Regions from separate parts of the Homo sapiens genome. Here region 1 is linked to region 2. Evidence: promoter capture Hi-C in 16 types of primary human blood cells and fetal thymus (Javierre and others, 2016). All regions are on one chromosome and are shown on one strand. The core of a region is centred on a gene start or on the middle of the fragment in contact, and the rest is flanking DNA. Distances in the headings are between cores, read along the strand shown. Region 1 has its middle 41 kb from the start of PTENP1-AS. Region 2 holds the start of NOL6 (nucleolar protein 6).

Region 1 (5,298 bases), core at 1,023-3,522, 250 kb before region 2:
ATGTTCTCTGCTTCACTCCACCCCAACTTGGGCATTGGAACAATGACTTCCTCATTGGGTTTTGGTAGTTTTTCCATTATGTTTTAATTTTGCCCTTTATATGAAGTGCTATATTTTGTTTTAGAATAGGCATTACATTGGCTCAAAAATCAATTCACACAGAAAGGTATACAGTGAAGTCTTACTTCCACCCCAGTTACAATCTCCTCCACATATGTGCACAGCTAATTCATTTTACTAGTATCTAGGGTACCCTTTACCAGAGTTTCTTTAAGATACTGCAAGATAGCTTAATCGCATTGCAATCTTGCATACCAAATTATATGCAAATTATGCATATAATTATGCAGACCAAAGTCTGACAGGTGCAGACCCTTGCGTATTCTCACTGAGTGTCTCCTGGGCTGCTCCTGCTGACAACCCCCTCTCCTCTCTCTATGTGATCTAGATCCATTTGAGAATCCTATGAAAGCTTTGGACCTTTCCTGAGGAAAATGCACCTAGGCACACACCTATACACATTGGCATTCAATTTTGGTGGGGGTTATGGGCTCTGTGAAGCCCATCTGTACCCTTGGTGATCACACCCCCCTTCTAAACTGTTATCTATTTAGAGCTCTGGGCAGGCACTTGGCTGAAAGCATTATGCTTCCTTTCAGAGGGAAGTTTCAGCAGGGCAAAGCCTGTATTACTGATCTCTGCTGTTTACAGAGATCTCAGTCTCTCCTCGGACCGAGGGGCATTGGTGCAGTGGAGCTGGGACCTGAGCTGGATCCTAGCTCTTAGGTAGAGTCCTGAGACTTTCATATGTCCTTTCCACAAAGTGAGTCTCACGAACAGACCTTATCCCGGAGGGTCACGGCTTTTTTCACAGAGATGGACATTGAGAGATAAGCACCCCAGGAACTACACAATTACAGTTGGGAGGAATATGGTGAAGAAAAACACCGGGGCCAGGACATCTTGTGTCACAAGGAGGCCTCCCAAGAGAGTGACATCGATGTGACGGTGTGTCCTTCAAGCCTGGGTCCAACTCCCATGTGGGGAGTGGCTGCCTTGGTCCCCAAGCCCATCATCCTGCAGGCAGTCCCTCTGACCACAAGGGGGCCTGCTGGAGCCTGGCCTGGCCCAGCCCTTCCCGCCCAAAAACACCTCCCAGTCTGGTCCCTGCTGTTGGTGACTCAAGGAGCCAACACCTGTCTCCAGAGGTCAAGGCCACCTTGAGGATATAGGGTGCCCCGACACTCCACACACGGGGCATGGAGGGAGTCTCCCGGCCGGGCCAGCCCCGGCTTCCTCTCAGTGGAATCTCTGCTACATGGGAGCCCTAGCGGGCTGGCTGGACCGACCCAGCCCCTGCCCCTGGCTTCCGCTTCTGCCCCACTTTGCTTCTTTCCCCCACGGTTGCCAGAGAGCCGCTGCCAGTTTTCCCAGCACATTGCTCACAGGAAATTAGAGTCCGAAGGTGCAAGATGAGAGAGAAAAGTCATACCTGGAATAACTGAAACCACTGGGGGCTGCATTTCCAGCTCCACTCGCCCTGTGCAAAAGCACTGAGACCCCACCTTCCTCGCAGGCTCCTGCGACACCCTCACCAGTGCTGAGGGTGCAGTTCCACCATGGACCATGAGGGGCTGCTTGCCCGGAGCTCCTGGAGGGGGCTCCCAGGGCCTGGCTCAGCTGGGAGAGGACAGAACACAGCAGGTAGCATCCGAAGCTTTACCTGTTGGCAGAGTGTGTGGTGTGTGCTTTGAGTAACATGGAGCAGGTTCAACAGAACCAAGTCTCTTCCTCTCCAAGATTCAATCACACCTAACGCTCTACTGCTGGAAACTCATCAGCCAGGCTGTGTCCTCTCTGCAAGGCACTCTTTACAGACCACTATAGAGGCTGCCTTTCTTTGCTGCTTTGCAATGTAGGAAGTGCTTCTGGTACACACCTGATGGTCTCCCCGTGACACTTCTGGAAGGTAGGCACTCGCGAGATAATTTTCTTTTGGCTGATGAGGGACTCTAGGACTGGCACCCAATTCCAGGTTGCCCACTTCTCGGTTTGATGTCCACTCCATTACGTGGTGGCCAGTACCACTCAGGCGCCTAGATGTGAATGAATCTGCCTGATGACTGGACTCCATGGCAGCAAAGCAGGGCAGCCCAGCAGTGTTAGGGAAGTGGTGAGTAATCCCTCAGGGGAAGGGAGAGCCAAGGCTCTGAAGATAGGAAGCCCACAGAGGAAGGAACCCCAGGCACGAGGGCAGACTTCCCTGTGTGCCAGGCAGAGTCTGCATTCTTGGGTGTGTGTGTGAGTTTTCACTCCTGTTAGTTCTTGGAGTTGACAACCAGCAATCACGTTTTGAATGGTCTCCTGGCCATGGATGGTGAACTGTGGGGTGTGTGTTCAGCGCTCTGTGCTGTTGCTGTTGTGGGAGCAACACCCAGAGCTCCATCGAGCCAGTATGTCCAGCTCTGTCTCTCTCAGCTAGCCTCCAAAATCTCTTCATGAGGGCATGACTCCCACTCGTGAGGGCTCCGCTCTTGCTCCCTAATCACCTCCCAAACATCCTACATCCTAACACCATCACATTAGCAGTTATGGTTTTAACAGATGAATTTGCAGGAGGGAAAAGACACACAAAAATTCCACTCATAGCACCCAAAGTGAGATTTAAGGTGATGCAAGAACACAGCATTAAATTTCATTGAATCGCACTAATACACTCTATTTAGTAGTAAGATGAATTAGTCAAAGACAGTCTGTTTGGTGAGAATAAGCACATAACATCTAACACCTACCAAACTCTCTTTTTATGAAAGAGAAAGCAAGCTTCAGCTTTGGCCCTCTTAAAGCTGGCAATGATATCTGGTTATATTAATAACGTTGTTTTTGTTTCATCGAATTTATTTTTATGCTTGGCTACCTTCTATTTACCGTAAGTGATGCCAATTTTTCTTTTCGGCTTATGATTGCAAGATTCCTTCATAAACATATGAATCTAAATTAAAAAGTGAGTTTAAAGAAACGTATTAACTAAATAACAGAAGGAATAATATACAGATATGGAAAAGTCTGAAGGTATGGAATTCTGTACTACCCCCAGAAGCTTATGAAAGCTTCTTTTTTCTAAGGAAAATTCCCTCTATGAGAAGAATTCTGATGCCAACACCAATCAATTTCTGAAATCTACTTCGATTCATCTCTTGGGTCAGTTTGTTTTATTTTCGTTTACAAGAAGGGCTCACGGGTTTTATGTTCTCTAGTGTTTATATGTTTGACTACTGCATCTGATTTAACAAGAACTTGTATGGTAGGAAATTGTTGTGTTCCACTTTCTTTTCCTCCGAACTTTGTGGACACTGTTTTACTATTTTCTTGCATCAAATGCTGCCTGATTCTCAGGGTCCTCTCCCAGCCCTACCCCACCATTGTAAGTGGATTGCTTTTTGTTCTTGAATACATGAGACTATTTTCTTTTACTTTGAAGTGTAGTAAATTCATCAAGTATGTCTCAGAGTTGAGCCAGCACTGTCACTTCTTTCCAGAATCCAGGGAGCCCTTTCAATTTCCTAGCCAGCTCTTTCTTTTCTTTTATATTGGTAGATATTTTTTGTATTTCATGCACTGTAGTCTTTCTTTTGGGGAAACAAGGACCCATGGGTAGATCATTATCTATCCCTCATAGCTTAATCTTCATCCTAACCATTTCGACTTTATTGTCTTTTCCCTACACACCTTCTATGATTATCTCAAGCTTTTTTGAAAGTGATGAATTTAATATTTGACTATGTTAATTTTGTTTCTTGCTCTTTCAAATTTACTTAACTCTGTAATTGCTGTTTTGATCTGCAATTTTTCCTTAGCTTTGTAACTACCATTTTTCCATCTTATTTTATTGTCTCATCTAAGTATTTATTTATTTTTGTTTCAATGAATATGTTTTCTTTGTTTTTTTCTAGATACAAAATACTTGTCTTAGATTTTTTTCTCTGTTTCTTAGGCTTATATTAGATTTCAGGATGGATTTTTCACTTTCCCATTTATACTATATTTCCTCTTCTTTTTTGTGTTAAGCTCTCTGCATAGTTGCCATGAATTTTCTTTTATTCCTGCAGAATTTTTAATAAAAGGAGCTCTATCAGCGCATCCCATTTGCCTGTATATTCTGTAAATCAATGTTACTTGGTTCTCATCTCAATGTGTCTGAGTGCTGTTGTCTTCCCTTCAGTAGTGTTTGCTTCTATTCTTACAATCTTTCTTACCCTTAGCAAGTTACTTATGCTTTCCGTGCCTCAGTTTTGTCAACCTACATCCTATATACAGGTTCAGCACTAAATGAGCCATAATGTGTAAAATGCTTATAACAGTGTCTGGCATACACGAAGGCTATTATCCTCAGGAAGGGAGGCTCTCTTCTCTCCAGCTTCTTTTTACCCCCAACTTTTATTTTAGGTTCAGGGGGGTACCTGTTCAGGTTTATTATATGAGTAAATTATTTGTCATGGGGGTTTGGTGTATGGATTATTTCATTGCCCATGTAATAAACATAGTACCCGACAGTTAGCTTTTCAATTCTCACCCTCCTCCCAATCTCCACCCTCACTAAAAATACAAAAATTAGCCTGCCATGGTGGCATGCACCTGTAGTCCCAGCTACTTGGGAGGCTGAGGCAGAAGAATCACTTGAACCCAGGAGGCACAGGTTGCAGTGAACTGAGATCGCACCACTGCACTCTAGCCTGGGCGACAGAGTGAGACTCTGTCTCAAAAAAAAAAAAAAAAAAAAAGATGCGACCGTGTTCTGAATACAGATGTTTATTCTAAATATAAGGCAATTCTCTAAAACAATGACAATGAGTGAAATCAATAATAAGCACTCATTTTCATGCATGAAAATCACTTACCAATTTTTTTGTAAACTTTTTGATGAAAACATATTTTTAAAGTTTCTTTTGTAAACTTTTTGATAAAAGAAAACCCTTCGACCCAGTAATTCTACATCTAGTAATTTATCCTAGGAAAAAATCAGGACACACCAAAAGTTGTATGGATAACTATGCTCATTACATTGTTATTTATAACATGAAAAATTGTAATCAACCTAAATGTTTGATAAATTAAGGAATAGCAATACAATAAAACTCAAAACAGACATTAGGCTATAGTAGAATATTTACTGACATAGATAAATGTTCATTTTATATATTTAAGAGAAAATGTGAATTTAATCCTGTTTCTCTGGAGGGGGAATAAGCAAAAAAAAATATGTGTTTGCATATTTTACATATATAAATATATAAAAGG
Region 2 (4,917 bases), core at 2,029-4,528:
GGCTCAAGCCTGTAATCCTAGCACTTCGGGAGGCCAAGGTGGGAGGATCACTTGAGTCCAGGAATTTGAGACCAGCCTGGGCAACATGGTGAAATCCTGTCTCTACAAAAAATTAGTCGAGTGTGTGGTGCACGCCTGTGGTCCCAGCTAGCCAGGAAGCTGGGGTGGGAGGATGGTTTGAGTCCAGAGGTGATATTTATGCTGAGAGGTGAAAGATGAAAAGGAGAAAAAGCCAAGAAAGCAAAATTCCAAATGGAACAAACAGCTTGGGTGAAGTCCCGGAGTTAGGAAAGAACTTAATACAACGAAGGAACTGAAAGAAAGCTGATGTTGCTGTAGCTCAGGGAACCAGGGGTGGAGTAGCAAGAAAAATGATGAGGGCCAGGCAGTGGCCGATGCCTGTAATCCCAGCATTTTCGAAGGCCGAGGCCGGCAGATTCCTTGCGCTCAGGAGTTTGAAACCAGCCTGGGCAACATGGCAAAAGTCTACACAGAAATACAGAAATTAGCCAGGCATGGTGGTGCGCGTGTGTAGTCTCAATTACTCAGGAGGCTGAGGTGTGATTCCACCACTGTATTCTAGCCTAGGCAACAGAGCGAGAACTTGCCCCTCTTCTCCCACAAAAAAGATGGAATAGCTGGGCAAGGTGGCTCACCCCTGTAATCCCAGCACTTTTGGAGGCTGAGGTGAGCGGATCACTTGAGGTCAGGAGTTTGAGACCAGCCTAGCCAACATGGTGAAACCTTGTCTTTACTAAAAATACAAAAATTAGCCGGGTGTGGTGGCATGTGCCTGTAGTCCCAGCTACTCTACTAGGGAGGCTGAGGCAAGAGAATCGCTTGAATCTGGGAGGCGGAGGTTGCAGTGATCTAAGATTGCACCTCTGCACTCCAGCCTGGGTGACAGAGCAAGACTCTGTCGCAAAAAAAAAAAAATAAAATAAAATAAAAAGAAGGAATAGCAAGTGAAGGGCCATATTGATCATGACTTTATGGAAGTTGAAGTTTGTGTTTAGTTTTAAGTACAATTGGAAGACACTGATGAGTTTTTAAAAGGAAGTGACATGATAGAATTTCTATTTTAGAAAACTAATTCTGGCAGCTGTGTGGAAAATGAATTGAAAATGGACATACCGCTCTTCTGAAACTTCCTTAAAAAGCTATCGCATAGCCGGGCGCGGTGGCTCACGCCTGTAATCCTAGCACTTTCAGAGGCCAAGGCGGGTGGATCATGAGGTCAGGAGATCAAGACCATCCTGGCTAACACGGTGAAACCCCGTCTCTACTAAAAAATACAAAAAATTAGCCGGGCGTGGTGGCGGGCGCCTGTAGTCCCAGCTACTTGGCAGGCTGAGGCAGGAGAATCACTTGAACCCGGGAGGTGGAGCTTGCAGTGAGCCGAGATCGTGCCACTGCACTCCGGCCTGGGCGACAGAGTGAGACTCTGTCTCAAAAAATAAATAAATAAATAAATAATAAATAATAAAAAAGCTATTGTATAAACTGACCTGCACTGTTTGAAGTCAGAATAGTGATTGTTGGGGGCAGAGTTACTAGAGGGCAGCATGAGGGGAGATTCTGAAGGTGCAGGAAATGTTCTGCTTATTTTCTGGGAGCTGACTATATGAGTATGTTTGGTTTGTTAGTATTCAAGCTTTACACTTGGGATATGTACATTTTTCCTTATGTATATTGTACTTCAATACAAATTTTTAGACTGGGCACGGTGGCTCACCCCTGTAATCCCAGCATTTTGGGAGACTGAGGAGGGCAGATCACTTGAGGCCAGAGTTTGAGATCAGGCTGGCCATCATGGTGAAACTCTGTCTCTACTAAAAATACAAAAATTGGCCTGGTGTGTTGGCGCATGCCTGTAATCCCAGCTACTTGGGAAGCTGAGCCACAATAATCAATTGAACCAGGAGGTGGATGTTGCAGTAAGCTGAGATCGACCCACTGCACTCTAGCCTGGGCAACAGAGGGACACTCACTCTCTCTCAAAAAAAAAAAAAAAAAAAAAAAAAAAAAATATATATATATATATATATATATATATATATATATATATTATATGGTAATAGTTGAATTTAGATGATCCTGCATTAGGAAATAAAATGAAACATATAACGGTTATTACTGGAATAACTGACAAAATTTAAAGATGGAATTTGTATACTAGTATTGAATCACGATTAAATTTCCTTAATTTCATAATCGGGCTGTGCTTACATAAGAGGTAGTCCTTGATCTTAGTAGATACATACCTAAGTATTTAGGGAGATGTGTGATTGGTTTTCAAATGGTTTTGCAAAATAATATGTAAATACATAGGTAAAGATAAACTTGGCAAAATAGTAACACTAAGTGAATCTAGGTGAAGAGTATATGCGCATTCATTATATTATTCTTGCAACATTTGTTTTAAATTTTTAATAGTTTAAAAATAGGCCGGGAGCAGTGGCTCAGGCCTGTAATCCCAGCATTTCGGGAGGCCAAGGTGGGCGGGTCACTGGCAGTCAGGAGTTTGAGACCAGCCTAGGCAACATGAGGAAACCCCATCTCTAGTGAAAATACAAAAATTAGACGGGTGTGATGGTACCTGCCTGTAATCCCAGCTCCTCAGGAGGCTGAGGCACGAGAATCGCTTGAGCCTGGGAGAGGGAGGATGCAGGGAGCTGAGATCGTGCCACTGCACTCCAGCCTGGGCGACAGAGCAAGACTACTCCAAAAATAAATAAATAAATAAATAAATAAATAAATAAATAAATAAATAAAAATAACTAAATTACTTGAAATTGTAATAAGCTAAGTAATAAGTAAAAACTGGAGAAAAGTCATAACAATAATTCGGGAACAAGATGATGTGACGGGCTAAACCTGGCAGTGAAGACACAGAAAAATGAATAAATTCAAGGTATGTTTTGGAGGTAGAACTGACAAGATTTGTTAACTGATAAGGTGTAGCAAATAAAGAAAAAGGGAGGAATAACTGCTGTAAACAAACCTGACCAAAAGGAACAAACTAGCTCCGCCCTTCCCGATTGCAGCCACGCGAAGGAAGTGAGGAAAAGAAAGCAAAGGCCTAGCTACGGGCAGGCTTCCGTTCTAGCGTCGCGAAGAGGCCGTAAAGCACAGAAACCCGTTTGTCCCCTCCCCTAATGGGCGGGCCTTGAGACTGCCCGGCCAATGGCAAGCGAGTAATCGACTGATAATCCAATAGCTCTGGAGTGGGTGGAGTCCTGAGGAATTGGGGTGGGCTGGACTTGGGCCTGGAGTTAGGCATTTCCGCCCACGTGGGAAGCTATGAGGTATAGACCCGGCTAGAATCTGAAGTGCGGGAGAGTGCTGGACCCTGAGTGATGGGGCCGGCGCCAGCTGGAGAGCAGCTTCGCGGAGCGACTGGAGAGCCAGAGGTGGGTTGAGCCATCGGGGAGGAACAGAGGCTCAATGTGCGCTCCCTTGGCTGCAGGGCCCGAGATGGCGTGATCTGACAGCTTGCGGGTGAAAGCCATGCCGGCGGCCCATTCTGGAGGATGTTTCCAGCCAGTGGCACTGAGACAGGGCTTGCTAGGGGTGATGGAACCTGGCAGTATTTGGTTAGAAGCAGTGAAGCCGGTAGAGCCTCTGCTCTCTTCTGGAGCTCTGCACCTCAAAGTTGAAGAGACCCACACTTGGGTCGTTTCTTTTATTTGGTGGTCCTTGACGATAAGCGGGATCTTCCTCCACAGAATTTGTGTCCAGTTCTGTGCTCCCCGCTGTAGCGGAGGGCATACGGTGCCTCTCCTGGAGCGCTCCAGTAAGGCTCTCTGGGATGAGAGGCATCGTGGAGCGGATGGGCCCACGGCTGTAGGGGAAAAGGTTTGGGATCCTGCACGCTTGCCTTTGAAGCCTGCTCATAGTACGGGTGTACCAGTTGTGGAACCTCGAGTGAATAGTGGGACTTCAAGTGTCTTCAAGAATTATTTTGAGGATTTAATGACTTGCTAAATGTGTCCTCTGGGGTCCAGTCGGTTCTAGCTCCTTCCATCAGTGAGTATTTAGTGTAAACTGAGGCAGTCAGGTCTTCCTAGAGGAGGTGGAACCTGGCAGGATTTGGTTGGAGCGAGAATGGGAAAGACATTTGAGAAGTCCCAGGCCTATATCAGCAGAAGAGGAAACTTCCTGAAAATACAAGGGGCCTGGGCATTACTTAGGGCAGGGCTCAGTCAGCTTCTTTTTTTTTTTTTTTTTTTTGACAGTCTTGCTCTGTTGCCCAGGCTAGAATGCAATGGCACGATCTCGGCTCACTTCAGCCTCTGCCTCCTGGGTTCAAGTGATTTTCCTGCCTCAGTCTCCCGCGTAGCTGAGATTACAGGCATGTGCCACCACACCTGGCTAATTTTTGTATTTTTAATAGAGACGGAGTTTCCCCATGTTGGCCAGGCTGATTTCGAACTCCTGACTTCAGCTGATCCGCCCAGCTCCACCTCCCAAACTGCTGGGATTACAGGCGTCAGCCACCGTGTCCAGCCTGGGCCCAGTCAGCTTCTATCACTACCAATTCCAAACAGAGCTCCATGCTTGTGGTGTCAGGTAGACAGGAGAGCTCTTAACTCAAGGAATTTTCGGCTCAGCGCTCAGTGATGTTCATCCAAGTAACGATTCTCCTGAGTTTTACAAAATCTGACTCCTACTCAAAAGAGGGACAGAGCAGGTGAAGCTTTTACCCACAACCTATCATGGTGGCACTTTAGGCAGCAGATGCTAGATACCTATTACCTCAAAATGGCTTCTCCCTCACTGGCCACAGGTGATGGAACCAGCCCTGGAAGGCACAGGCAAAGAGGGGAAGAAAGCATCCTCCAGGAAGCGTACATTGGCTGAACCTCCAGCGAAGGGCCTCCTGCAGCCAGTGAAGCTCAGCAGGGCAGAACTGTA

The links. The method cuts DNA at HindIII sites, captures the fragments that hold promoters and counts their contacts. A CHiCAGO score of 5 or more calls a contact.
Region 1: a contact is called between a fragment that was not itself captured here and the fragment with the promoter of NOL6 in region 2, in 1 of 17 cell types (erythroblasts). The highest score is 5.5, in erythroblasts.

Annotation. Positions count from the first base shown.
Region 1 is chr9:33,716,063-33,721,360 of GRCh38, reverse strand. No RefSeq gene overlaps it. Among named protein-coding and RNA genes, the nearest start is that of PTENP1-AS, 41 kb to the right of the region's middle. RefSeq lists an enhancer at 1,178-1,267. The HindIII fragment of the contact is 1,106 bases long and covers 1,720-2,825 here.
Region 2 is chr9:33,472,285-33,477,201 of GRCh38, reverse strand. NOL6 (nucleolar protein 6) reads left to right here and starts at 3,278. Exons shown (of 26, transcript NM_022917.5): 1 at 3,278-3,413; 2 at 4,790-4,917. The coding sequence starts at 3,360. It overlaps LOC107987061 (a long non-coding RNA gene), which reads right to left and starts at 3,062. Exons shown (of 3, transcript XR_001746648.3): 1 at 3,005-3,062. RefSeq lists an enhancer at 3,327-3,666. The HindIII fragment of the contact is 3,045 bases long and covers 1,657-4,701 here.